Regions from separate parts of the Homo sapiens genome. Here regions 1, 2, 4 and 5 are each linked to region 3. The links are contacts of gene promoters, found by promoter capture Hi-C in blood cells and fetal thymus (Javierre and others, 2016). All regions are on one chromosome and are shown on one strand. Each heading gives the region's core, a stretch centred on a gene start or on the middle of the fragment in contact. The rest is flanking DNA. Distances are from core to core; before and after follow the strand shown. Region 1 overlaps HSPBAP1 (HSPB1 associated protein 1). Region 2 overlaps HACD2 (3-hydroxyacyl-CoA dehydratase 2). Region 3 holds the start of HCLS1 (hematopoietic cell-specific Lyn substrate 1). Region 4 overlaps PARP14 (poly(ADP-ribose) polymerase family member 14). Region 5 holds the start of SEC22A (SEC22 homolog A, vesicle trafficking protein).

What was found. Contacts are between HindIII fragments. The CHiCAGO score rates a contact against its expected background, and 5 or more counts as called.
Region 1: a contact is called between a fragment that was not itself captured here and the fragment with the promoter of HCLS1 in region 3, in 1 of 17 cell types (monocytes). The highest score is 6.3, in monocytes.
Region 2: a contact is called between a fragment that was not itself captured here and the fragment with the promoter of HCLS1 in region 3, in 2 of 17 cell types (total CD4 T cells and total CD8 T cells). The highest score is 10.7, in total CD4 T cells.
Region 4: a fragment that was not itself captured here is called in contact with the fragment with the promoter of HCLS1 in region 3 in 1 of 17 cell types (monocytes); the score reaches 5.1 in monocytes.
Region 5: a fragment that was not itself captured here is called in contact with the fragment with the promoter of HCLS1 in region 3 in 1 of 17 cell types (total CD4 T cells); the score reaches 5.3 in total CD4 T cells.

Annotation. Positions count from the first base shown.
Region 1 is chr3:122,784,054-122,789,446 of GRCh38, forward strand. The region is part of intron 1 of HSPBAP1 (HSPB1 associated protein 1); the gene reads right to left. Among named protein-coding and RNA genes, the nearest start is that of HSPBAP1, 7.1 kb to the right of the region's middle. The HindIII fragment of the contact is 3,559 bases long and covers 2,247-5,393 here.
Region 2 is chr3:123,577,998-123,583,909 of GRCh38, forward strand. It overlaps HACD2 (3-hydroxyacyl-CoA dehydratase 2), which reads right to left. Exons shown (of 7, transcript NM_198402.5): 2 at 4,215-4,332. Among named protein-coding and RNA genes, the nearest start is that of HACD2, 4.1 kb to the right of the region's middle. The HindIII fragment of the contact is 1,246 bases long and covers 3,968-5,213 here.
Region 3 is chr3:121,659,426-121,665,260 of GRCh38, forward strand. It overlaps HCLS1 (hematopoietic cell-specific Lyn substrate 1), which reads right to left and starts at 1,478. Exons shown (of 14, transcript NM_005335.6): 1 at 1,395-1,478. GOLGB1 (golgin B1) reads right to left here. Exons shown (of 22, transcript NM_001366282.2): 21 at 5,501-5,606; 22 at 3,776-5,189. The coding sequence ends at 5,055. RefSeq lists enhancers at 1,321-1,510, 1,701-1,750. The HindIII fragment of the contact is 5,970 bases long and covers 1-2,275 here.
Region 4 is chr3:122,693,688-122,699,359 of GRCh38, forward strand. It overlaps PARP14 (poly(ADP-ribose) polymerase family member 14), which reads left to right. Exons shown (of 17, transcript NM_017554.3): 5 at 1,739-1,975. Among named protein-coding and RNA genes, the nearest start is that of PARP14, 16 kb to the left of the region's middle. The HindIII fragment of the contact is 7,781 bases long and covers 1-5,672 here.
Region 5 is chr3:123,200,981-123,206,827 of GRCh38, forward strand. It overlaps SEC22A (SEC22 homolog A, vesicle trafficking protein), which reads left to right and starts at 963. Exons shown (of 7, transcript NM_012430.5): 1 at 963-1,006. RefSeq lists enhancers at 520-669, 680-759, 1,000-1,049. The HindIII fragment of the contact is 3,731 bases long and covers 2,584-5,847 here.

The DNA of each region.
Region 1 (5,393 bases), core at 2,776-5,275, 1.1 Mb after region 3:
CTCTTGACCTTGTGATCCACCCACCTTGGTCTCCCAAAGTGCTGGGACTACAGGCATGAGCCACCATGCCCAGCCTTTTCAATGCCTTTTACCCAAAATAATCAATATACCAAAGTGGCATATTTGGGGGTGGCATATTTTGATCCCTACACTATGAAAAGCTATAATATATTCATGATAAATAGTATTCTGTTTTTCATGGGATATAAATTGGAATCATCCTTTGGGAAACAACTGGGAAAAATGAAAGAACTGTTCATTATCTCAGTAACTCATGTTAAAGGAATTTACTGTAACAAATAATTAATCATAAGCTATGTACAGCATACACATACACACACACAAATGTCTACTACCACACTATAACAACAAAAAATGTAAACAACCTGATGCCCCAAAGCAGAAAAATATTTACTAAATTATGACAAGGCAATCCCATAGTATACTATATCCACTAAAAATGAGGGCTGTCTAGAAATATGTAGAGATATGAGGTGGGAAGGGAGAGTTGGACCTGAAGTTGACTCAGAGAGCTATTGCAATAGCCAAGCGATAAGTATGATACAGGCCTGAACAACAGGGGTGGCAGTGAGTAAGTCAGATATGGTGAAGATGAAGAAATACTAAGAGAATAATATCAAAGGCTATTACAACCAGAGATGTGGGGTGGGAGTCAGATGTAGCCAAAAGACTGAGGTGTCTAGACTTGGTGACTTGCCATAAGAGAAGTCAGGAGCAATAGCTCATTCTTTTGGGAAGATGAGTAGCTTGATTTTGAACACAGGCATCATAACAATACCATACATTTAACTGTTTAATGCTTCACTGTTTACAATGCACTTTTACAGACATTAAAAGTGCTCATGTGATCTTATAAGAAGCCTGTAAAACAGGCAGAGACGGTAATTCATTTCCATTAATTGAAGGAAGAAATGGAAGCTTAGATGTCAGAGGACTGGAACCAGATTTATCAGGTCCCCTCAGTCCAAGTCCAGTGCTCTTTCCACTGCACAATCCTATTTCTAGAGAATTGACTGTGTGATTTAACTAGGGCTAAAAACTCAGAAGAAAAAATATAACCTGAAAGGATACACAGGAAAGCTCAAGATCAATTCATAGATAATCATTCACATGTGCTCCAGGGAGAGAGGAATGTTTTGAGGAGTGCATGAGTGTATGTGCACGTGCACTCATGGCAGGGAGTGCTAGTTGCCTGTGACAAAGACTCTTTGCTTGGCCAAACTTTAGTCAGGCTTTAATTCTTCTGCTAGGTCCATCTATGCACTTCCTTGTAAAACCCAGTTTTAGGAAAGAACCTTGCTAAGTCAGTTTAGCAAGAATTGCCCCCATCCCTGATATCTGATCAGGTTCTTCACCCCCAGCCAACCTCCAGGTGGTATCTGATCACCTTGGCCTGCCTTCAGCAAGAATCCTGTTAGGTTGGTTTTTCCAGATTTCCCCTTACCCCTGATGTTTCCTCTTAGTAATTTCTTATCCACTGACTCTGCTCCTTGGCTGTAAATTCTCACTTGCCCATGCTGTCTTTGGAGTTGGGCCCAATCTCTCTCCCCAGCTGTGGGACCCCGTTACAGTAGTCCTTACATCTATGGTGATGGTCCTGAATAGTCTTCCTTACCATGCCTTAACAAGTGTCACTGAATAATTTTTTATTTAACTTCTACTTACCCAATACTCATTCTCTTCTTCCTTACTAAAGAACTTTGGGCAACAGGACTGACTGAAAAATTTTATTTCCCAGACTTCTTTGCAGACAGGAGTAGCCAAATATAGATAGATAGATAGATAGATAGATAGGGAATATATATCTATAATTTCCATGTGTGTGCGTGTGTGTGTGTGTGTGCACGCGCGCACATATGGAAGTTGCGAGTCAGCCTTTTTGCCCTCATCCTTTTCTATATACTGCCTGAAAAGCAGACATGATGATTAGCCCTCTTGAGAGACAAATGAAAGGTCCAGGAAATCGCAAACCTTAACCAAAAGAATGCAAATATGTTCATCTTTGTGCTACTGAACCAACTACTACCTCCTGAATCCTTTTAGATTAAAAAAAAAAACAAAATTCCTTCTAGTCTAGACTGTTATTAATTCATAGCTGGTATAACACCTTGCTTTCTGAGGCCATCATTTTCAAGGATAACCATATTCTCCCTCTACACTGTTCTGTGGCTTGGGCTGGATGAATCATGGCTGGTCTGACACACTGTAGCATTCTTTCAGTTCCAAGCTTGTAAAATATTCAACCTTTGAACATTTTGCTTCTGGAACTTTAAAGGGCAGAGAAAAACAGAAGCATGAGTTACTTTGGGGTAGCGATTTATTTATTCTACTTACCTTACATTAGAGCCAATAGATCACATGGCTTTGATTATTCCCAAAATGGTTCATACTTGGGTAGATATAACTGGGTAGCCTTCTATAAATATGGACACAGGCGACAGTAACACATGAGTAGTATTTTGACAAAAAAGCTATAAAGAAGTAAATATTTCTTCTCTAGCATAAAGTTAAATTTAAAAAATGTAATTATCTGATCTAAAAATCCCACACATCCCAGAGATTATTTAATAGGAGACCTCCAACACTAAAATTTGCTGAGAGAGTGCCTGGCCTAGTGACTGGTATATATTAAATGCCAAAACATTTGCTAAATGAATGAGAGCACTATGAAGTGTGTGCAAAGCAGAGTAGCAGGATGTTCACCATAACAGGAAATTAGCATATTTACAGAATTTCAGGCCCATCGTGAAATAAAACAATCAGCTGGTTGTGAGATAAAACTAATTTAGCTTCTGATAATTTAATCAACAATAAACTGGGCCATTAAATTAATGAATTTAAATGTTACAATTTCCTTTAAAGAAGAATGCAATGCTACCCTGTATTAGTTAAACAGCCTATGGATGCACCCAGTTATTCCATGCTAATAATATTTTGCAAAGAGCTATAAAAATTCTGAAGCAACCTCAACAGTCTTCAAAGGATAAGGGTATTTAGGTCTAAACTTGCAGCAGGTAGTAATTTTTAACTAGATGATTTAGAAACTACTGAAAAAAAACAGATTAGTGATCTGGGTGTTACCCAATAGTTTTTTCTCTCTCCAAATGTAGGATGTTCTCCAGTCAATTTATTACAGCCTGAGTTGCAACTAATTCTTTGGAGATAGTGAAACATCATCAAAAATAAATTGCGTCCTTCTCAGTAATTTTTTAAAATTAATGTAAAGTACAAGATAATTTGAAACCTAATTTCTCTGAGAACGCCAACTATCTGGTGTCTGTCAATTAACACCTGGCCTGGATTTGTATCTGAGATTTAGACTTTAAGACAAGAATAAGGAACATTTACCATGTGTCCAGGACACTCCGAATATTAACAGAATATAACAAAAATCTTGAAATTGAAATTAACTTGTCTCTCATCAGATATAATTTTAATGAAAAAATTAAAGATTTTTAAAAACCTTTAGAAGTTGACATAAGAGTAAGTCACACATTACACTACAGAGAATCACTATAATGATACAGCATGAATTTAAAACTGGGTCCTGGCACAGTGAGATCATTTATTTCTGAATGTATACATCTAAGTGTATATATGGTGTTTCATCAAACAACTATTGTATATACATATAAGAAAGTTTAAAACCTCTGGAATGGTAGATATTAGGGCAAAAAATAATGACCATTTGGGTCATGTTAGAAAAACCTGATGGAATCGTGCAAGTACTATCTGACAAAATTACTGGATTAGTACTGAAGACTGAATGGTAAAACTTACACCAAAAAGAATTTTTCATTTTGTAACCACTATTTTAAAATGTCAACACAAACTAAGAAAATTCTCCTGAAAGGTAACATAATACTTAAGTACAATGACGGCTAACCATAAACCCTTTGAATTTCAAGGTCTAGAAGGTGATGTCTATCACTGAAAAAAACCCACAAACATTAGTGCTGCGGCTGTTATGACCTAGCCTTATCAATACCAATGCTTGGTGTGGCAGTAAACACACAGGAAGTTCAGGCTGGGCACCTGAGACAGTTACATCCTGGACACTTACCAAAGGTTCATGAGCCTTTTAGCTTCTTTCCATCCTCCTACACTTATAAACCCTTGTTCAGTTAACCCAGAAAACTTATCTTTACCTCAAAAAATGGCTCATAAATTCAAAAGTAATACTAGTCTCAAACCAAAGCAAGAAAAAGGAAATCTGTCTATATTTTAAGTGAAGTTAACACTAGAAGGAATGATGTCTCAAATACTAAAGGTTTTTGCAACGTACCTCCAAAATTTCTACCCAAATGTTTCCATTGAACCCCAGCCTCCCCAAGTGAATTTTCGATAATTTAAAATAAATGATTATTTTATCTTACTTTTCCTCAAAAGTATTCTACAGTAAGGTCTTGAAAAGACATCTGCACACCCATGTTCACAGCAGCACTATTACAATAGCTAAGTGGTGGAAGCAACTCAAAGGTCTGTTGACGAATGGATAAGCAAAATGCTTACACGTGCAATGGAACGTTATTCCGCCTTAAAAAGGAAGGAAATTCTATCATATACTACAACATGGATGAACCTTGAAGACAGTATGCTAACTGAAATAAGCCAGTCACAAGAAGATAAACACTATATGATTCCACTTATATGGAGTATCTAAAGTGGTTAAATTTCTAGAAACTGAAAATAAAATGGCAGTTACCAGGGACTGGGGGAAGAGGAGAAAGGGAAGTTATTGTTTAACGGATACAGAGTTCCAGATTTGCAATATGAAAAAGCTCTAGAGATCACCTTCACAATGTTGTGTACCTACCTAACACTACTAACACTGAAAAATGGTTAACATGGTAAATTTTATGTTATATGTTTTTACCACAATAAAACAAATGGTATTGTTTTTCTGATACTCATCAATACCAAGCATTCAGTGAAATTAAAAATTTTATCTACATTATGAATTACATATGGATTCTAACATGGGAATTTTTTACTTTTTGAGATAACACAGACTTTTGCTTTTCTTTAAACTCCTCCACCCTTTGCCCCTTTTAAAAATGAGAACAAAAATGACATGGTGAGTACGGGTCTCCAACTGAAAAAGATAAATCCAGTTATGTAGGAATGTTAGTTCTAAGTGAAAATCAATTCCATACAACTCTAGATGAGATATTTCCTCAGAAAGCACTGGAAGAAGAGTTACTAACACATTCTCCTCTTTATCAAGGAATAATCTTGGCTATAACTAAAAACTAAAAAACAGCCCAATAGAGAGAAATATAATAACCTCAGTTTGAAAGATAGAATCACACTCAAATAACTGCAATTTTTAATTTCACTGAATGCTTCAATCTATGTATGATTCTGAGAGT
Region 2 (5,912 bases), core at 3,341-5,840, 1.9 Mb after region 3:
AAAAGGAAATCCTGTACCATTAGCAGTCACACCCCACTCTCTCTCCCCACAGCCCCTAACAATTCCTCTACTTTCTGTCACTATGGATTTGCCTATTCTGGATATTTCTTATAAATGAAATCATACTATTTGTGACTTTTTGTATCTGCCTCCTTTCACATGCATTTTTTCAAGATTTATCCAGGCATATATCAGTAATTCATTTGCCTTTATTAATTTTATGAATGTTTATATCCATAGACCACATTTTATCCATGAGTAGCATTTTATTTATAGATACTTTTTTTTTTGGAAATGGGGTCTTGCTCTGTCACCCAGGCTGGAGTGCAGTGGCACGATCATGGCTCACTGTAGCCTTGAACTCCTGGGCACAAGTGATCCTCCCACCTCAGTCTCCTGATTAGCTGGGACTACAGGCATGTGCTACCATGCCTGGCCAATTTTTTAATTTTTTGTAGAGATGGGGTCTCGCTATGTTTCCCAGGATGGTCTTGAATTTCTGGCCTCAAGCAATCCCCCCATGTCAGCCTCCTAAAGTGCTGGGATTACAGGTGTGAGCCATGGTACTCAGCCAGGCTTCCTTTTGTACCTTGCTACTACATGCTCCTTTGTACTTGCTTGGTAAATGTTTTTATGTCTTTTAAAAAGCAAAGTGTTATTATTTTCTTAAGAAGATGTGAAATTGGAGAACAAGTAATTTCGATTTCCTTTTTAAGTAAACTCCCACAGAACCTAATAAAGAATAACATTTAGCATAAAGAGATATAAATGAGTAGCTGCCTTCCCTGGATTCATTTTCTCCTCCTGTAAACAGGATATATGTCAACACTAATAATTCCCATCAGGATAACTTATGTGTAATTAAACAATACCACACACATCTAATTATTACACAGTGTAGATGGGGTAGGCAATGAAAAACTCCTCAACCACAGAAATTGTGGTTTTAGCAAGCCTGCTCTATCGCCCAGTCCAAGGGATTACTTCCATCACTGACCTTTGCAACGTTAATTGCCTGCATGTTCCTGGGAGTCTTCACTTCCTTATGCACAGACATTTTCCCAAAATCAAATCCAGGATTTGTCACTTAATTGGTTCTTAGTGGGGATAACAGAGATAAAACCAAAAATCCAAGATATTTTCCTAAATCCCTATTAAAAATTCTATAAGGATAAACAGGCTAATCCTTCAAAGTCTAAGACTTGGTTCCTGAGTGGATTTTAAAGTATGACACTGTTTAATGTCCCTACCTTCCATAAGATATACTTAAATTTTAAAAATTATACTTCTAACATTACCAAGTTTTTTTTTTTTTGAGACAAGGTCTCACTCTGTCATCCAGGCTGGATTGCAGTGATGCAATCATAGTTCGCTGCAGCCTCAAACTCCTGGGTTCAAGCTCAAGCCTCCCATTTCAGCCTCCCAAGTAGCTGGGACTACAGGTACCCACCACCCAGCCCAGCTAAAAAAAAAAAAATTTTTTTTTTGTAGAGATGAGGTCTTGCTATGTTGCTCAAGCTGGTCTCGAACTCTTGCCCTCAAGTGATCCTCCTGCCTTGGCCTCCCAAAGCTCTGGGATTGCTGGGACTATAAGCATGAGCCACTGTGCTCAGCTCTAATATTATGATGTCTTAAAGAGATAGAAACCCCTTTAAATTATTGAAGTATTCCAAATGGGGACAACCCCCTACTATATCAAGTACTGGAAGTCTGATGGTCTTGACTCCAAATTTGCTTCTCTGTAGCTTGTGGGAACTGTACTGGCCAAGGTTCTGAAAGAGAAAGTACTACTTATTTACTAGTGTCCGCTTCCAAAAAAAGTTCAAGCCTCTAAGTTTAAAAAATGGTTCACATTAGGATTTGTTAAAATTTCCTCACACTCAAATTTAGGGTAGTAAGGGACTTTAGAAATCTACTTTAACCTAATTATTTACAAATGAAAAGGAGGTGGATACGAGAGAAAAGACTTGCCCAAATCTATAGAGTCAGTTGGGAAAACTATTATACTTAAAATAAAAAGGTACTCAGGCTTCCAGCTGGAAGCTCATTTCATCATACCACCTACTTAAAATGCCTAAGTTTGGACACTATTGAAATTCCTCTGTGTTGCAGTGAGCCGAGATCCCACCACTGCACTCCTGCCTGGGCAACAGAGTAAGGCCCTGTGTCAAAAAAAAAAAAGAAAAAAGAAAGAAAGAAAAAAAGAAATTCCTCTGCCTTCTAAGAGAAAAAAACAAAAGCAAAATGGATAACTTTCTGATCTAGAACGTGAGAGTGAATCCAGCCTGGGAAACACAGCCAAACCTCACCTCTACCAAAAATATAAAAATGAGCCAGGCACGGTAGTGCACGCCTGTGGTCCCAGCTACTTGGGAGGATGAGGTGGGAGGATGGCTGGGGCCTGGGAAGTCAAGGCTGCAGTGAGCAGTGATCACACCACTGCACTTCAGCCTGGGTGACAGAGTGACCCTCTCTCAAAAAAATAAATAAATAAAGTGAGAGTGGGCTGGGTGCAGTGGTTCACGCCTGTAATCTCAGTGCTTTGGGAGGCTGAGATGGGAAGATTGCTTGAGCCAAGGAGTTTGAGACCAGCCTGGGCAACACAGGGAGACCCTGTCTCTATGAAGTTTTAAAAATTATCCATGTATGGTGGTGCAAGCCTGTGGGCCCAGCTACTCTGCAAGCTGAGGTGGGAGGACTGCTTGGTCCCAGGAGTTCAAGGCTGCAGTGAGCCACGGCCATGATGGCACCACTGCACTCCAGCCTGGGCGACAGAACAAGACCCTGTCTCAAGAAAAAAAAAAAAATTGAGAATGAAAGGTAGAGGTATCACACTTCATTTCATGAGATAAAGAATTTTTTTTTTTTTTTTTTTTGAGACAGAGTCTCGTTCTGTTGCCCAGGCTGGAGTACAGTGGCGTGATCTCAGCTCACTGCAACCTTGCCTCCCAGTAGCTGGGACCACACGCCCGTGCCACCACACCCGGCTAATTTTTGTATTTTTAGTAGAGACGGGGTTTCACTGTGTTAGCCAGGACGGTCTCAATCTCCTGACCTCGTGATCCACCCGCCTCGGCCTCCCAGAGTGCTGGGATTACAGGCGTGAGCCACCGTGCCCAGCGAGATAAATGATTTTTTCTTAAGTATCATTCCATAGTTCAGGTTTTAAAAGTTGCCAGTAAAGTATAAATGTTATGATGGTCTTGCCTGGAGGCTAAGCAAAATGAACCAGATCTTCCCTGCAATCTGAAGGTTTTTCACCATAATGAAATATACGAACTATGGCGGCTATTGATTTTGTGTGCCCAAAGCTATCCCCATCCCTCTTTTCCATAAGCAAAGTCTATAGTCCCTTGGACAGAAGAATGGGCATGTGTCCTAAGATTGGCTAATCAAGCACCTCACATCACTGGCATAGTCTAAGTAGGGCCAACCAGAATCCTCTCTGGGAACTGTGTGACACAGATGCTGCGAAAAATAAACACCCTCCCTGTTTCCCACCATGTGGAGAGCCCAAGACCAACATTCAAAGAGAAACAGACAAGCAGAAATGAGAGAAAGCAAGAGAATCTGGCAGTGTCAGCTCCTTGGTTCTCATTCCTGAGCTAGTTTCTTTGTAAATTAATCCTGTATCTGTATCAACTACAGAGGCCAGAAAATTCCTTTTTTGCTTAAAATAGTTTGAATTGGGTTTTTGTCCCTTGCAATTCCAAAATCCTAATCTATACTTACCCCAAGAGAGAGGGCTGGATATACATTGCCCTTAATGCAGGGAAATCAATACATTTTTGTTAAATTTTTAAAATTTGGACGCCTCTAGACAGGCTCTCTATTATGTCTTCTATCTATCACTTCCAATATCCTACACCCACCAACTTCACTATTTCTATTACATAAACCCTGAAAGCATCTGATTTTGCCAGTGCTTCCCCAGGATGTCCCTAGAATTTTTAAAAATCCTAATATAAGCTTGCTTCAGTTGATTTCCCAAAAAAGTCGAATATAAAATACATTCAAGGTAACCTAAGTTAAATGAGATTCTACCCAATCTAGAACATCAAAAAGCCTAGGTATCAACACTTTAGTATGTGAGGAGGCAAAATTTCAAAATTTAACATGAATCCAAAGGGGGTATGCTACTTCAATATAATTTAGTTGCATGTTTTTCTTCATACCAATGGAAATCAATAACAACAATAAATCTCAGGACCTACCTCCAATAAGGCTCCAGTTTGAAAGAATTTCAAAGGCTTTTCAATTGAATAATAAAGGCTATGGTAGCTACCCTTAGCCAGGTATGCTCGGACCAGACCAACCGCTATAACCAGCCACCTAGTAAAAGAGAAAACAGCAATCAGGAAAAAATAAAAATAAAAAAAGTAGCATTTAGGTTAACACACAGCTGTGGCAATAAAAGATATTGCTAAAGGTGACCTCAAGCATGAGTAACCTGGATTTATGGACGATAGCTCTCAAATGCCAAGCTGTAATGCACTGAAATGTTGCAACACCGACAGCACCTTACCAAGAGGGCTCAGTGAAAGCATAGTGGCACCTCACCCATCTGGAGCTCATTTTTTTGGCAACTTTGCTATTGAGATCAAGGCCAAAAGGAAAGGAATAAGCTAAAATGGTCCTTGTGCCACTAAATCAGGTGCCAAGAAAATCTAAGACGAGAAAAAAACAGTTAAAGGAAAATTTTAAACAGCCTGTGCAGTTAAAGGGTTTTTAATAATTACAGGGTGGAAAGAAGATGCTTTAAACTATTGTTATAATTGTCTCACTGGAACAATTACCCATACCTTAAAATCTATCCTTTTAAAATTACGAATAAAGGGCTCTTGCTAAAAAAAAAAAGTTTTTTAGCCAAATTTCCTAAAATCAATGCAGAAATGAAAGCCAGATCAATACAAACCACGAAACAGGAAAGCACTTAAGCATACAGCTGTGAATGTTATATTTTTGTTCCACTGTCCTTCTCAAAAATAAACACAATGTTTTGTTAAGTTCCATAATAAAACAAATGGACCTTTTTATTAAGGTATGTCTCCTGGAAGGATTTAGATAAATGTATAGTATCAACTAGGCAATGGGGTGTGTGTGGTCTATGCTATTTCCAAAAACTATCACATAAGGACATCAAGTAAGAGTTTGTAAAAGAAGAAATTATTTAATGGTGTAACTGGTACAACCATTAACAGCCTTAAAAAAAAAGCTTACTTTGCTCTCACAATCCCAATTTATCTTCCTGGTTTAAGATACCACTCCTTACCCTCCACCCCATTCTCTATGTTCATTGCTCAGGAATAGACTTCTTTCTTCTTACCAATGTACCTCAAAATCCCTCTCCAGTCCAATGCCCTCACCGGCTCTTGCTAAGACAACAAGAATTTTATATATAAATATTAATACACACAGTGAGATTCCTGGATGTTTTTTTAAAAATCAATCTATGTGACCACTGATGTGATATAAAGCTTGTATCTGTACTAGTTCTTCATTGACCTGTGAGTCAAGAGAAATGATTTCTAGATCTGGAACTTCTACTAACAAGTTCTATGATCTCATGCAAGTCACAACTTCTCTGAGCCTAGGTTCCAACACCTACCATTTCTAATACTAGCAATACATATATGATCCTCCCACGATATATTTTCTTCTTCGTGAAAAAAAAGCAAGGTGCTGAACTGTAAAAATATTAATATATTGGCATTTGTCTTATTTTAAAAAGGGATAGGGGGATGTATAAACATATTTGCTTGCATCAGCATCTTAAGGATACACAAAATTAACTGCCTCGAGGGAGGGGAGCTGGGTAGAAGGGAAAGGTGGGAGGAAAGATTTTCACTGTATTCCCTCATGTTTTTCATTTTTAACCCTAACAATGTATCACCTACTTTAAATAAAAATGG
Region 3 (5,835 bases), core at 228-2,727:
CCCATGCTCTCCATCGTCTCCAAAGAGTCCCTTTACAACCACTCCTCGGGTTCTCCTGTCTCCACCTAGGCCTTCAGATTCTCCAGTTTTCTATTTCCACTTGAAAGCTCCATCTTCTCCATTGAGCAACCTCTTAAAAACCAGCCCAGGGGAAGTCTGGGTAAATCAGTTAAAGAGATGCTAAGGGGACACCGGAGAGATATTGACTGAGTCAGCCGGGAGTCATGGCTGAAAGCAGCTTGGCTTTCCCTGATGCGGTTGGAGACAGCAAAACATCCTTACTACCTGCATCCTTACTACCCCTCTGCTTCTCATCCCCTGGCTCCTGGGCTGCTGTGCAACAACAAAAGGACTGTCACACAGAAAACTGGAATGGAGAAGTTTCTGAAATAGTCATGAGCAATAAGGAAGCAATGAGGACTGATGGTCCCATCCTCCTTCCTGTGGCTCCTCTGAGGCCTCAGCCTGACTCTCCCATTCACCCATTTTTGAAATAAAGAGTTTCTGAAATAGAGACAATTTATCTAATATCCTTGACCTATTGACCAGAAACCAGAAAGGTAAGAAGTGCTATCTAGAGGTGAGAACCAGAGAGTAATCTGGTGAGGCCTTGTTGCGATGCTGACCTCCTGCATCAAAGTACACAGACTGGGAGTCAGAAGCCCTGGCTGTCACCCCAGCTCTGTGACTAAGCCTCTGAGGGACCATCACAAGGGCATCAACAGAGTAGGTACTCATTTGCCAGGTATCAGACCAGGCGATTAAGAAATACTAACTTTAATAATTTGGCAAATCAGCAATTATCTCTGATTTTCCCAGTGGAAAATAATGAAGGGGTTAACGTAGCTCATCTGTGGTCTCCTTGATTTCTGACATTCTGAGATTCTGTGATCTACGAACACAGAAACTAGCCCCAGCAGAACAATCATGCCTTCTCTTGGGCTCCATCAGCACTTGGTACTCAGTGCTAGTGTACATCAGTGACTACTTCCTGATCTGTTACATTTCCTGTGTGGGTTTGTTTCCCTGAGACCATATGCTCTTCAAGGGCAGACACTGTTTTCGTCTCCTGTGGTCCTCCTCCCAGCTCAGTACCTAGGGGAGACAGGCCTTAGAGTGGGTTGTAGATTGTCAGCAGAAACCAGGCAACACTTTGCTTGATGTTGGTGCTAGATGGCTCCTGAAACACTTGCCTTGGGTTTAAGCCCCTCCCTTTTGTTTCTATCTCCAGATGCTGATTTGCTACAACCACTCACAACCAGGCCTTCTGGCCATAAAAGGATAAAAGCCTACTAGTGGTGACCTTGCCCATCACCAAGGACTAAGAGCCAGGTAGGTTCCTCCTCAACTCTTACTCTGTGTTTCCCAACTGTCCCATGGCTCAGAGTACCCACCTCCACCTGTGCAAGCCTCTGTTCTAAGCGCCCGGCTCCTCGCGTCCACACCGACTCCCTCTCTGGCTGCTGCCACTTCGGAGTGAGAAACTGAGCTGCTGCTTCAGTTCCGTATTCAGGTTTTCGTCATTTCCTGCCACCCCATCCTCACAGCTACTTCCTGAAATTTGAGTCAGTTCCTTCTGCTTTAGACACTTAAATTTTAAAAGGATTAAATGTTTCTGTGCCTGGTCTTTTGCAAGGTTTTGACAATGGGGGTCATAGAGCAGTCATAGAAAATGCTGCTTTGACTCTGAGTTTGTAATCCAGTGAGAGAAACAAACATTCAACCAGAAAACACATTAGAGAATGCTGTAGAACAGCATTGTGTCCTAAATAGGGTGGCAGTTACATTTGAGACAGTAAAGGAATTCAGAGCATTTGGTATTGGGTGTATTCATCAAGAAAGGCTTTATGGGAAAAGTGATTTATATGTGGGTTTTGAAGCATAAGACTTAAAAAGAAACTCACCCCTATATTACCCACAGCACTTAAAAGTGGAGTTTTCATATAGATGTTCAAATAAACGTCGACCAATTGAATGCCAGAAGAGAATAACTCATGAGGGAAAAGGCAAGACATGGAAGGAGAGTTTCCTAGCTTGTTTGGGGCACTGTGGAGTCTGAGCTAACAAACTAAAGATTTGGCTCTAGAGCGTAGGAAGAATTCTGAAAGAACCAGGTGCTGGTCAGCTGATGGAAGAAGGTCTTTGTGGTATCCTGTTTTACTGCGTGTCAAGACTTGCTGCCCCTCCCTTCCCTCTTGAAGTCAGACTTACTCAGGTGACTTGTTTTGGCCAGTGACAGATACCACTTTCTGGCGGAGGCCGTAAGACCACTGCAAGCTTTGCCATGCTTTCACCACTGCCCAAGGCAACCTGCAATTCTCCATATTGGCTCCTCCAGCAGACTGGGTCCCTGAGTGAGAAAGAACACAAGTGGAGCCCCATCCACCATGTGGGGGAATTGGAGTCTTTCACTAAAAAATAGTCCTTTGTTTTGGCTACTGAGAATTTGAGGGTGTCTGTTATTGTATCTGACCTAGCCTTTCCTAATCTTGATTGTGGACTTCTTGATTTGTTCACAACGGTGCATCCTCCAAGGAGTTTAAGCAGGACTGGATGAAACTGGCCCATGATACAGGCACTTTTCTGCATTAGGAATATGAAGCCTCTGTCACTTCCAAATCTAAGGATTCTATGCCTGGGGGAGCTTTATTTATTCCTTCTACTTTATTACCTATTTATCATGGTGGTACCAAAGTTATGATAAGGAAGAGTACGTTTGTACAAGAGAAAAATCACTTGGAATCCTCATGTAGTGTCAAAATACGATTTAGACTAGATGATGTGACACACCATCCAGGTACATAGTTCTCTAGAGAAAATATAGAAATTAATCAGAGATGACACCAAGAAGTCCCATCTTTCCTTAGCAAATGTCACAAGTTCATTACTGATGAGGTAGTGAGGTGTATCACACAGAAAAAGAATGGGCCTTGAAGCCAGACAGACTTGGTTCAATTAAACCACTTATTGTACTTTGAGAAAGTGAGCTATCTTCTCTCAAGCAGCAACTTAATATAAAAATCCATAATAGCTGGGCACGGTGGCTCACACCTCTAATCCCAGCACTTTGGGAGGCTGAGGCGGGTGGATCACAAGGTCAGGAGTTTGAGACCAGACTGGCCAACACAGTGAAACTCCATCTCTACTAAAAGTGCAAAGATTAGCCGGGCATGGTGGCAGGTGCCTGTAATCCCAGCTATTTGGGAGACTGAGGCAGGAGAATCGCTTGAAACTGGAAGGCGGAAGGTGCAGTGAGTTGAGATTGTGCCACTGCACTCCAGCCTGAGCGAAAGAGTGAAACTCGGTCTCAAAAAAAACCCAACAAAACAAAACAAAACATAATAATGCCTATCTAACCTGCTACATGCTATTAAGCTTCTCTTCTCCCATTCCCACCCAGAGGGATCCCTAGGGGCCTAATGTTTTCACTATGTGCCAGACAAGAGTTCTCCCAGGACCATGCATGGACCTGCATCAATTTCATGCCCTAAGGCCCAGCTTATTTGGTTCAGTATTAGGATAGAATTTCCTCACTGCATTCATCACCTGGGGTCTAGCAGCTAAGGCTGGAAAAATGCATGCAGCTGTCACTGATATTGGCCAGTGAGAAGAAAGCCTGAATATGTAGAGCTTTCTACCCCTATAACCATTCCTGGCTACCTCCTTTCCCTACTTCCCTTACCCACCTTCCACCCCCCAGCATGCAAACACAGGTACCGAAACACCTGTGCACATATCCATTCACTCACACGTACACACACATACACACAAACTCTTCATTCTGAAAATAATTTTATTATTTTACAGTTGTTCAGGAAACTTCCCAGGATGTTGTAACCAAGATTTAATCACCACAGTAGATTTAGAGCAGATCAGTCAGCCCACTTGTCTTCTCTCTTCTTTAGGGAGAGGCTAGGCAGTGAACACATCACGTATGCAATGAGAAAATAACCAACTGGTAGGATGGGGGAGGGGAGGGGAGGCAGGGAATAGGCACAAATGGAATTCTATCCTGGCTGTCCTTCTCAGGTCTATCTATATTTAATTTTGTCTTCTCTATATTCTCCTTCCATTGCCACAGAGGGCAGAGACAATGGGGCTGAGAAACTGTAATAACTGTCACTAACAGCAAAGTAGCTTAGTACTTCAAGAGGTCAGGAGTTGCAGTGTGGTGTTAGACCAGTCAGACTCCTGGCTGAGAGTCAATGCCTAATATTGGCTCCCAGTGGCCCCTGAGCACTGTCTCAGGGTCCACATTCCAGGAATATTCAGATATTCCTGGAATGACAAGAATTGGAACCCTGCTGTCCATAGACACTTCTCCCTGCCCTTTGGTGAAAGGAAAGACTTGGGCCACTTAATACCTTAGTATACATGTGATCAAGGGCAAAAGCAAAGGGATTCTATCCTTATAGTCTAAGACCTGAAATTCTCCCTCCAATTATATCTGAAATTGGCAGGGAAGAAGATGCTGTCCTCCCATGTGATCTAACAGCTAAAACCCCTAGGGAGTTCCTTCAGCTTTCACCACCCTATTCTGCAAGAGACCTAAATCAGATGTCCTATGAGGTGACATGTTCATTTCCCTGAACTCTGTTTATGGCAGAGCCACCTTCCCCCTGAAACAGGAGAAAATACAGGCAAACAAGGCAAAGAAAGTTATCAATCAAAATGATACTGAACTTCAGATTATTAGGTTTATTGAAACCATCCTCTTGGCTTGGCTGAAAGACATTCCTCAGTATCTTTTACAGGACCACAAAAGATCAGGGTCCTGCAAAATCTCAACAAATATTAGGCTCAACAAACCAAATGTGATTCTCAGATTAAGCAGAAGCGTTCAGGCTCAGGGCAGTAGAAGAAAGCAGACTCGCCAGTCCCTGCAGCTCCAACCTGTCCTCGTATCCACCTCTGTTTTTGCAGGCACTTTCCGTGAAGAGTTGGAGAGAAGACCTGTAAATGGGAAGACTGTTCCACTGGAATTGATGTTCTGATGTTAGAGGTGAGAGAATTCCAAGTTTTGAGGGGAGTGGTCCAAAGAGTAACAACTAAGTCTATAGATGGCCCGTAAAACACAGAATGAGCAGGACATGAATCATTAGAAAGTAGATGGCTGCTAGAAGTGGCACTCGGGTCCGTGAATGACAGAGTGAACGCAGGACTCGCTTCCATCCAACGCCACTCCGGGTCTGAAAGAAAAATGTGAAAGTCAGAGAGTTTTCACCCTATAGGGCTATGTTGCTTTCCCTCCTACTAGTCTTGCACTTAAGCAAAGCTGACCCAACCACTGTAGAAAGGGGTATTCTGAGAGGAAAGTTGCCTCAGAGTCAACAACTTGGCAAATTCCACCAGGTTCTAATCTTCCACGCCCTTCCAGCCTTAGACTCATTCGCTGCTCAGTGGCTGGACTTCCACATTCCTTCTCCTCAGCTCCTTGCCCCCAGTATAGCCAGCCCTGTCAGATAATAAAACACCCTCTCTTTATCCTTCTTCCTCTTACCCTTCGACAACTGTTGCTTGTAAGATCTATTAACAGTGCCTGCTCCTGAGTGCCACAGGAGCCAATGATAGGAGTCCGGGAAGAGTCCCATTCACTGTGCTCTAACCTGAGTTGAGAAAAAAAAGAGGCATAGCATTGGTTCATAGCATGAGAGGCTGATCAGGCCCAGTCTTCCCAGTCATCCTGCCACACAATGCAGCACAGGAGGAGACTTGCAGCAAAAGCTGCTCCCATAAACCCAAACCCATGCAAGGGGGGTACCAGCAGATACGTTTCCTTCAGCAGCAGCAAAATGTGACAATAACTATCAGGAATTGACTGCCTACTCACTATGT
Region 4 (5,672 bases), core at 676-3,175, 1.0 Mb after region 3:
AAAATTAGCCAGGCATGGTGGCGCACACCCGTCCTCCCAGCTACTCAGGAGGCTGAGGTGGAAGGATCACTTGAGCTTGGGAGGCAGAGATTGCAGTGAGCCAAGATCATGCCACTGCACTCCAGCCTGGGTGACAGAGTGAGACCCCGTGTCTGAAAAAAAAAAAAAGAAAAGAAAAGAAAAAGAAAAGTGCTTAACAACTTAACGTAGTACCTGAGACGTAGTAATGACTGAAAGGGAGCTATTCTTATTTCAAATTTATTACTGTTTCTTACAAAGGAAAAACTAAATGGACTTGCTTTTGTTCATCGATCAGAATCTTGAATGCTTAATATGTGCCAGGCACTGGTCTAGGTGCTGTGGGCACAGAGATGAATAATCAGGTTCCTGCCCTTGAGAAACTCATAGCCTGGGGTCAGGGAGGAAGCCCATATGTAAACAAATAAAGAAGGTCCAAGAGAAGAAGCTGTCTCTAAGCTGTGAACAAAAAGCTGTGGGAAATGGGAGGAAAGGGACCCAAACAAGGTGGCTTGGTCTTGCTTCTGTGAAGTTTATATTCATAATGTCCAGAATATATTCCATCTGCTTGACATAGATCTTTCCCTATCCATCTGGTAAACCCCTCTTCATTGTTCAAAACCCAGATCAGAGCCACTTACTCTGGGAACCATTGTCTGATTCCCAGTATTAGTCTTCCCACCTCATTTGATCCCACAATAGGCAATTTATTTGCTCTCAAGACTTGCTCCCACATGGATGATGCACTGGCAAAGATTTGTTATATTTATTTCTGTATCCTCAGATCCTAGCACAGTGCCTGGCACATCGTGGGCCCACCATCAATACTTATTATTATTATTATTTTAAGATAGAGTCTTGCTCTGTCGCCCAGGCTGGAATGCAATGCAGTGGCGTGATCTCAGCTCACTACAAGTGATTCTCCTGCCTCAACTTCCTGAGTAGCTGGGACTACAGGCGCGCACAACCATGCCTGGCTAATTTTCGTATTTTTAGTAGAGACGGAGTTTCACTATGTTGGCCAGGCTTTTCTCGAACTCCTGATCTCAGGTGATCCGCCTGCCTTGGCTTCCCAGAGTGCTTAGATTACAGGCATGAACCACCACGCCCGGCCAATACTTATTATTAAAGAGACAATTGAGTTGAGTCCTAAAAGATGAATAGGATCAAGACAAAAACTAGAGAAGAGCATTCCAAATGCAGGAAATTGTATACACAAAGACCCTTTCAAGGAGAAGGGGTTTTACAAAAATAATGACTAGTTTTTGTGGCAACACGGACAATAAAATGAATGGCAGGGAATAACCGAAGGTGATGCTTGGAAATTAGTTTCGAGTCACATCACCAAGGGCATTGTACACCTGGCTGAGGAGTGTCAACGCTCATACCTGCAGGTAATGGGGAGCCATTGAAGGGCTTGAGAAAGGGGTGAAATGAGATTTGTAGGGAAAACCCTCAGGAGGGTTGGTGAGGTCTGGGGCAGGAAGTGGGGACACAGCTCAGTGGCAGCAATCCAAGTAAGACATTCGTGTGTGTGTCGCCCAGCGACTGGGAGTTTTAGGTATGTAAATTCTCATGTAGGTATTAAAATCTTGTGTCTAAAAATGGAGTGCTTAGCTCTTCCTTTTATTTCAATTAGTAGCCAGACATTTTCTTCTATACAACATAAAGATACAATAAAAATTTACTGATTTTCTTTCTTTTTTTTTTTGGTTTGTAGATACTATAAGATTTGTTGATGATTGTACCAAGCACCATTCAATTAAACAACTTCAGCTTTCTCCAAGACTTCTGGAAGTGACAAACACAATCAGGGTTGAAAACCTGCCACCTGGTGCTGATGACTACAGTTTAAAACTTTTCTTTGAAAATCCCTATAATGGAGGGGGAAGAGTTGCCAATGTTGAATATTTTCCTGAAGAGAGTTCAGCTCTGATTGAATTTTTTGACAGAAAAGGTAATATTTATTAACCTGTCATACCTGGCATAATCTAGGCCATTATTAGCAGAGCTTAATAGTTATAAATTTAGTTCTGATGTGTTTTATTTGTTTATTTATGTATTTCTTTGGGAATTGAATAAATAATCCTGTTCATCTGCGATATGATGCTTAATAAGGCCAGTGATTCAGACTTTAGAGAAGCAAAATCAAGTTTTTGAAAGATATAAGGAGGTTTTTTCATGAGTCTCTACCTATGATGGGCTGAAAAATATATTCTTGGGATCTTTGAAATAATATATTAAAAAGGAGATGATCTGTGTTTTAGCCACACACTTGATAGAAGCTCTCAAATTAATTATGACAAGGTTAGGTAAAGAAATACTCAGCAACTCATAGAGTTCCTATAAAGTACCACTCCTTTCACCTATTGTATCATCATTCAAAAATGGACAGGAGTGGTTTCACATGACCAGTGGATGCCTGCTGGACTATTGTTTGGAGTGACCCTGTGAAACCCATGTCTAGCTGAACCTTAGAGAAACACTTCTGAGTGTTTTGTGATATAGACTGCCAGTTCTCTGAGGCATATGCAAGGTCAGCTTGGAGGTTCCACTTGTGTTCAGAAGTCAAGGCTGAGCAGAAGGAATTAGGGGGCCAGGCTTCTTGGGAAAAGAAGGAAAACTGTGCCTGGGATTAATCAGGGTGGGGCATGACATAGGATAATGTGGTATGCCACCCACTTGAGAGAAGTTGTTTCAACAAGGTACTTGAAGGAACCTCCCTTTTCCCAACTCAGTTTTCATGTGTTGGGAAAACTGGATGAAAGTATGGTTTGAATTAAAATGGAATGAAAGACCTACTATTCCTTGGGCAAAGGGACAAAGAGGAGCTTCTGTCACATATTCAAATCTCCCTCTGCCTGGTCTTGGGCCCAGGGAGAGAGAGGGGTACATAAAATCCTCTACCCTAGAAATTAACCTCCCAGTTTGTGGTGAGAGTTGATATTTTCAGGGCTTTCAAACATCTTTAGGGCATGGGGCTGTTGGGTTTGTCCTCAGAAGGGCTATTCTGCACATATACAACTAATGTTAAGTACTATTTAATTAAGGTTTATTTTCTGCCAGAGCTATTCATGTAAACTCTATGAGGCACTCTCAAAGGTTCCCTTTCTCCCTGATCTCTTTGCACCATCTAACTTTTTTGACCACACCTCCTCCTCCAAACTCACTCATTCTCTGTCCTCCACCATCTGTGATTTACTGACTTTCTTTTATGTTCTCTAGCTTCTCCTTTTTATTTTTTATTTTCATTTTATTATGTATTTGAGACAGGGTCTCACTGTCTCTCAGGCTGGAGTGCAGTGGCATGATCATGGCTCACTGCAGCATCAGCCTCCCCAGGCTCAGGTGATCCTTCCACCTCAGCCTCCAGAGTAGCTGGGAGTACAGGTGCATGCCACCATACCCAGCTAATATATTGTATTTTTAGTAGAGATGGAGTTTCGCCATGTTTCCCAGTCTGGTCTTGAACTCCTGGGCTCAAGCAATACTCCCTCCTTTGCCTCCTAAAGTGCTGGGATTATAGGCGTGAGTCACTGCACCCAGCTTAGCTTCTCCTTCTTTTAATTTTAACTTACATTTGCATAGCTTCGCAGGTTATTACCAAGTGCATTCAGACAGTCTTATGGGCATCTTGATTGTTATAATCCCTGTTTTGCACATGACGAAACTGAAGCACAGAAAGGTCCAATAACTTGCCCAAGATTACACAGCTAGTGAGTGACATAGTCAGGATTTGAACTTGGGTATTCTGGTCCCATAACATATACCCTAACTTCTCTCCTCTTTCCAAATCTCCTGTTCACCTATAACGTTAATTTTTCTTATAGGATATTTCACCATTCACAATGGGTTGCCAATAATGAGGCAGATGGTAGATAGAGCTTGGTTTAAAAGAGAATTTATTGTACAATATTGTGTTTTATGTAGATTTCTTGAAAGGAAAAAATTAGGCATTTTACTGTAAAATTATTTGGTTCAACTTCACAAAATCTGTTTTATTTCTTAAGAGAATTTTCATTGAACACCTATGTCTGTAAGATCTTTTGCTGTTTTTTCTGCTACAGTATCTCACAATCCCATTAATAATCTGCACAGTTAGATAAACTTTGTCCTTACAGACAAGAAAAGCAGGATGGAGACTTTAAGGCATATTAAGGTGACATCTGTGATGGTTCTTGAGTCAGACAGACCTGAGTTTGATTCCTGGCCTTGGTGCTTACTAGCTTTGTAATCTTGGCCGAGTTACTTTAACCCACCTAAGCCTCTGTGTTCTTATCTGTAAAATGGGGTTCACATTACTGGTTACTTAGAGGAATGCTGTGAGGTTGAAATGAAATAATACCAGCAAAGAGCCTGGTGCCTGATGGTGCTCAGTAAGTTGGTAATCATAAATACTGCCCAGGCTCAGGGCTGCCACAGAGCCATGTTGAAGCTATAAAGCTCAGGGCTGCCACAGGGAAGTTGAAGCTATATGTTTGGGCCTCTGAAGGCCACTGCTTTTCCCTCATGCTTGATACCAGCTCTAGGACCCAATCATACACAAGGTGAAGTTATTTTTAACATCTTTCCACAAAGGTTGCTCTTTTAACCCAAGTTGTTATTGGAGCACATTCTGATTCCCTTTCTGCAGATGCTCTGCTTAATAACTTACACAAAACGAGGAGGGGCTTGGAAGAGAAGAGCATGCACATGCACACACATGCAAACACACCCAGTGAAGTGGAAAAGGGAGATTCCAGCAGGGCCAGGAGGAGGTGTGGTTCTTACTGAATCATAGTCTGTGGGGCTGGGCTCTCAGAGGACAGTGATGATAACTTGGATTTGGTAGAGGGGCAAGAGGATGGGCGTTGGGGTTGGACAACCACTGAATCTCAGCTGAATTATCTGCAGTCTATGTAACCCTATCCAAGTTATCTAACCTTTCCTAGCCTCAGTTTTAGTAGGATGATAATAATAATGTCTCTACCTCAAATGGTTGTTGTGAGGATGAAATGAATTAAATATATGTAAAGCACTCAGAATAGTGTGTGACACATGCTAAGCTATAATAATTTATTATTATGCTCCTCCTTTTTGAGGTATTAATGTTAATCTAAGTCAACTTTGAAGCCTAAAATTATAGGACTGTACAAGAAGAACAAATAGCATAATACTAAGGTGAGCTTCACTTTGAGCACCAAAATATTTTTTATACTTTGAGCACCAAAATATTTTTTATACTAGGGCAAACATTATTCTCACGATTGTGACCAAACTCATGTATTTCTTAACATGATGGTGATATATCAGTAATATCAGGAAAACAGTAAACAGAATTTAATTAACAAGATTTCAACATAGATGGATCTTGGCTAGAAAGTAATTATTCCATTCAATAAGGGATACCTGTGCACTGCTAACACATATCAGTTTATATTTGAGCACTTTGAGAGTATATTGCTTTTTAATACGCTGTAACATCAAAATTCTACCAACATTAGTTTTTTTTACTCTAAAATGGGAAGATTTTGTTTTGTTTTTCTTTGCCACATATCATCTTGGTCTTACATTGTTTTATTTCTTTCCTTTAAGTGTTAGAAAAACATTAGATTTTTTTTTCTCTAAAATAGGAAAATTTTGTTTTGTTTTTATTTGCCATATATCATCCTGGG
Region 5 (5,847 bases), core at 3,199-5,698, 1.5 Mb after region 3:
GAGATGAGACAAGGGCCAGACCATGCTGACTCTTATTGGCCACATTACAGATTTCAGGCTGTATTTTGGAAGATATCTTAAGGTCAACGGGCAAAGTTTCTCCTTGCTCCCTACACTCCATCCACACTGACTCCCTTTTAGTTCCTAGAGCACAAGAAGTTCTTTCATGCCCCGACAACCTCACACAATATTTCCTTGGCGGGGAACATTCTCTAAGGCTCTTCAATATGCCTGCCGCTTAAAAGGCACTTATTCAGAAGTCTTTTCCCTGATAGTCCAAAATTAATTGATCATTGCACCCACTAATTTTCCCTCCCAATACTGACAATTTGTAGTTCTGTAACTATTTATGCTTTAATATCTCTTGCTCCAATTACTCCTTAAATTCCATCAAGTGTTATGTCCACTCCTGTAACCCCGTGCTTAACACGGTGCTTGGCACATGGTAAACAGTCAGGAAATGCCTGTTTAATAATGCATGACCGATGCGAAGGCTGGAAGGGGTCGCAGGGTCAGCATCTGGCACTTCTCTGCCATGGTTAGTTTCCTTCTTGTGTGTGGGAATAGACGGGGCCAGGTCTTCTCCTTGCTCACCCAGAGGGGGCTTTTCTCCCTGTCCCCTTTATAAGTGTCTGCTGTAGGGCCGCGTGTGAGAGACAAAATGCCTGCAGAAACAGGGCGGCGAGCGGAAGAGATTGGCCCTATTTCTGAAGTCAACGTAGTTCTGTCATCAGAGGATGCTGTACTTTTCTGGCGCAGGTGCGAGAGAAGCTGCCAATCTCTCCTGGAGCGGGTGGGACTAAGGAGGGCCCCGGGAGCTGGGGGGTTGTTGTGTCCTTCCTGCAGAACCCGATTGGCCTGGGTGAGCTGAGGGAACGGGGGCGTGGTTTGATTCCGCGGGCGCGAGCCACGTTGGACGCGCCGCAGCGTCGCCGAAAGGTCCCTCCCAGGCCCCACAATGCACTTCGGGGCGCGTCACTCGGAGCGGCGGGTCCCGTCTCGACAGGTACTCCCCGGCCCCTCCCAGTCCTCTTCTTCCTTTCTTAGGGGTCGTTCGAATCCCTGCCGGCCTCTCCCCTCCCGCTCCCTGCCTCTCGCCACAGCCTCGGCCTTCGCCCTCGGGATTGAAGACCTACCCCACGGGCAGGAGCCAAGTCCGTGCCTTTGGGATGGGAGTCGGGGCCGCGGAGCTCTGGAGGGACGGGCAAGCGGGGACCCCGTCCCCTTCGACTTGAGGGTTCTCTGGGGCCAGGCGGGCGGCGGTTGCGCCTCGTCTGAGCCGCCTCGGGTGTTGGGCAGCCAGGAAAGGAGTGTTTGAAGGGGAGGGACAGTCGCACTTGGCTGTCAGCATGGTGGTGGGGATTCCCTGGCGCCCAGGTGTCAGAAACACGGTGATCTACCTGTGTAGGTGGCCCATGAGAGCTTGAGGTGGCATTTCCTATTTCTTTTAGGCAGAATGGGACTTGAACCAGTGTCTTACTTTACGTTTTGTGGGGATGGAGTGAGCCCTGAGCCCAGATATTTGCCCGCGTTGGCTCACGGAAATCTCTTGAGACCCTGTCTCAAGAGTCACTTTGGGAACGATGTGGCAGAAGGGAGACCTGAGCAATTGGCTCGGCAAGTGGAGGAGGCTTCCAAAAGAAAAGGACAAGCCCCAGCTGGCTTGAATCTCTCTGCCAGTGAAGACAGCTTAAGATAATTTTTCCCTGCTGCTTAGTTTCCTGGATCATCCACCTGGGGCAGGGGGCGAGCTTGAGAACCAGTCCCTCCTATGCCTATTCAGCCAAGGCAAAGCCTAGCCCAGAGCAAAAGTATCAGCCACCAGACTGGAGATGTTGGGATCTTCAGTCAGGGGAACAGCCACTTTTCAAACTCTGAATCACTTTCCATGTTACTGATATTTGCTTACATGCTAAGATTGTAAGGAATCAGGCAATGCCTTAAACGGTACCTACAATTTCTGATATATTAAGGTTCATTCAGTATTTGACTCTGACACCTGTGACCATATCCTAAAGTAATGGGACATTCGGGTATTTCCTATGTTGAAAACCATCACATCTGTTTAGTGCCTTTTTTTTTTTTTTTTTTTTTTTTTTTTTTTTTTGCGTGCAACTGGTTAAAATCGAAGTATATCTTATGTTGGTATATGAAAGAGGCCTAGGTCTTATCACAGGGGTGCCTGTGACCTTCCTTGAGTGTCTCACAGAGTTGTTAGAATTGGGCCTGAGTTTAAATCCCTACTTTGTCACCTACTCGTTTAGGGATTAAAAAAAATTCCTCAAGCTTTCTGGGCTTGAATTTCCTCAAAGGTAAAATGGAACTAATAATACCTATCTCACAGGTTTTTGGAACGCTTAAATGAGGTAATGTGTATAAAGTGCGTGGTCCATGGAGAGTAATCAATAAATAATACAGCAAATATTTAATGTAGTGCTTTTAGCATGTTACAAGGCAATGTTTCAGGCACTTTACATGATCCTATGAGATAGATACTATTGTCATCTTTAAAACAAGCCTATGAGATAGATGCTATTAGTAGCCACAATATATAGATGTGGAAATTGAGATATAGAAAGGCAAAGCTTGTCCAAATTTACATGGCTGGTAGATGGTGGAGCCAGGATTAGAACCCAGGCAGCAAGTGAATAGATAGTTTCTATATCCCTGGTTTCTTGTGTCTTGTTGGTTTTGGGAGACTGATGAAGCATAGTGATGTAGAGATACTAGAAACTTAGACCGAAGTACCAGTTCTGCTATATACTAGCAGTGTGACATTGAGAAAGTGAGCCTTAGTTTCCTCATCTGTAAAATGGTGGTTTTACCTACCCAACCGTGAACTATGTGGCACTATAAAAATGTTGGGATTGACACATTTGAGCATGTATTGGGGGCCCTGTCCTAGATGTGGGTAAAATCTGTTGTGAAGCCTGAGGTCTTATACATACTGTGCAGTGCAAGCACCCATAATAGGAATGTCGAACACTGCTAGTGAGGTAGAAGGCATAGGCAAAATGGCGGAAATTCCATCCCCTTTATCACCCACTCTATCCCCCACCCTCAGCGAGCACTTTTAATAAAATAATATGTACCATATTGGTATTGTTTCCCAAACTTTGGTACTGTCACATATGCAAGATAATTTGATAAGCAAATGAACATTAAAAAATTCTCCCCAAATTTTCACACACATACATATTTGAATGAAACAAGTTCATTTAATTTAAATTAGGAGAAAAACTTAACATCTCAAAACTGATTTCACAGATATTATTGCTAAAAAATAAAGGACAAGAAAAGTAAGTCAATTCAAAGACCAATATTAGGTAAATAGTACAGGTGGATGAAGATAATTCTGAAAGTGGTACTTGGATGACTGAAGACTGGGAAGTTATGAACTAAAATAAATATGAGTGCTTTTGCCCCCAGTATAAAATGTTTTTATCTTAAAAGTGGCATTTGTGAAAGCATTTGGTTAGAACGTATATACAAAATCCACTTACATGTTGGGCTTTGTTTATTACCTTTTGAGAGATAACTTCCTGAGACATTGAGCCTGTAGTCATTACCCCTACAAGGTTCTGAAGAAGAGGGGTGTCTTATTATCTTGGGTCCAGGAACTTGCTAACCACTACTATAGTAGTTTGGCATTGTGGGAATTTATTTTCCTCAGCCTTTACATAAAAGTTTACCCAGATTTACCTAGATTCTAGCTTGTGCTTTTTCCTCCAACAGTTGCTGATGGGGAGAGGAAAAAATAGCCACTATTCAGGTTCCCTGTGAGTTAACTGCTGCTGTACAAAGGCAGGTGTAATATTTTCTCTGTATTAAAGGTGAGGAGAAATGGCCCAGTGCCCTAAACATTTATCTATGGCCCCGATAAGCTAAAAACTCCTAAATCTTCCCATGCAATTGTTGTAATCTCTTGCTTTCCACAGTTCCACTGGTTCTTCCTTGGGATTTTCCCAACCACAACCCTCCTTAAGACCTTAAAGATACTTTAACCTAGCTTAGGCCTGACATGGACAGATTTCCTTTTCTGCTAGCACAGTCCAGATAAGATTAGTTTAAAAAAAAACAAACTATATTATGAATCCGTGGTAAAAAGAAAAAAAGTAGGGGTATGTTTATTGAATTGATGGAGAGACAGCTTAGCCTAAGGTGGTTGGAATCTGTCTACAAATTAGTTAAGCCTGACGTTGATCATTGGACATTCATCCCCGTTTGTCAGGCTTAAATTCAAGTGCTTTGGATGCTGAATCAAATTACTGTGGTAGAAAGAGGTTTAATTTTTTCCCTAAGAAAAATCTTATCTATGGATAAGTAGAAACCATTCTCTGACAACCTTGTAATAATTTTGACAGGGAATGTAACTACTGTGTTCTGCTTTTGGTTAAAGGCTAAAGTACATATTAGGAAAATTTGAGGCTGGGCGCAGTGGCTCACACCTGTAATCCCAGCACTTTGTGAGGCCGACGCAGGTGGATCACTTGAGGTCAGAATTTGAGACCAGCCTGGCCAACACAGTTAAGCCCCATCTCTACTAAAAATACAAAAATTAGCCAGGCATGGTGGCGGGCACCTGTAATCCCAGCTACTTGGCAGGATGAGGCAGGGGAATCGCTTGAACCTGGGAGGCAGAGGTTGCAGTGAGCCATTGCACTCCAGCCTGGGCAACAGAGTGAGACCCTGTTTCAAAACAAAACAAAACAAAACAAAAAAACAACAAAAAAAGGAGTATTTGAAATGTAAGTTTGTCCAACTTTAGTTTTCCAGTTAGTGAAGTGGTGGGCAACACACCTGCATTGTTTGCTCTTTTCAACTGAGTTTCTCTAATTGAGGAGTGATGTTTCTTGATGGTAGGACTCTTCATTCCTGCTATCTGGCATAATTCATGGGACACATTAGATATTCAGTAAATGTTTGGTAAACGAATGGAACTTACAAATTGTATTCTTTTTACAGTATGTGTTTTAGAAAGCATGGATCATATATTTATTGATCTGTCCTCCAAGTCACTAAAGAATAACTTTGAAGACTACATGAAATTTGGCAACCTATTAATGAAGTCTATTCATAATATTTCTATTAGGATCCTAGAGAGGCCAGACATAAAATAATACAGTCTACTTTTATTTTACTTTTTGAGACAGGATCTCTCTCATCACCCAGGTTGGACTGCAGTGGCACAATCATAGCTCACCATTGCCTTGAACTCCTGGGCCTGCTTCAGCCTCCCCAAAGCAAGTACTATAGGCGTGTGCCACCATGCCCAGCTGATTTTTAATTTTTTTTATAGAGACAGAGCCTCACCATGTTTCTAGGTTGGTCTTGAACTCCTGGCCTCAAGCAGTGTTGGGATTATGGGTATAAGCCATGGCACCCCATCCAATCTGCTTTTAAATACTAAAATGTGGGTATTTAGAACTGCAAGTTACAACTCACCCTCAAATTAATTCCCAGAATGGTTATTGTGTTGCAGTGTACTTCTGGAAAGACAACAGTTTTATAGTTAAATAATAAACGCTTAAGGGGATAGAGTAAGACATTTTCCTACTTTCTTACACTTAGGCTAAATGTTACAATTGTGATTTAATAATTAAGTAAAACATGGTAAAAAAAAAATTAAAGAGGGGTTTATAGTATAGATATCTCTTCAGGGATCCCAACTTTTTCATGCTACTGCTTTTAGGAGAGAAAAAAACTAGATGAATGGAAAAAAACACCAATTGGGATATGTCACACTGGGACTTCAGTTTGAAGACTCCACTGTAGTAAAAAGACTAATTTGCTTCTGGATATTTTTCTCTTTAAATGAATGGAGAGGCTGGGCGTGGTAGCTCATGC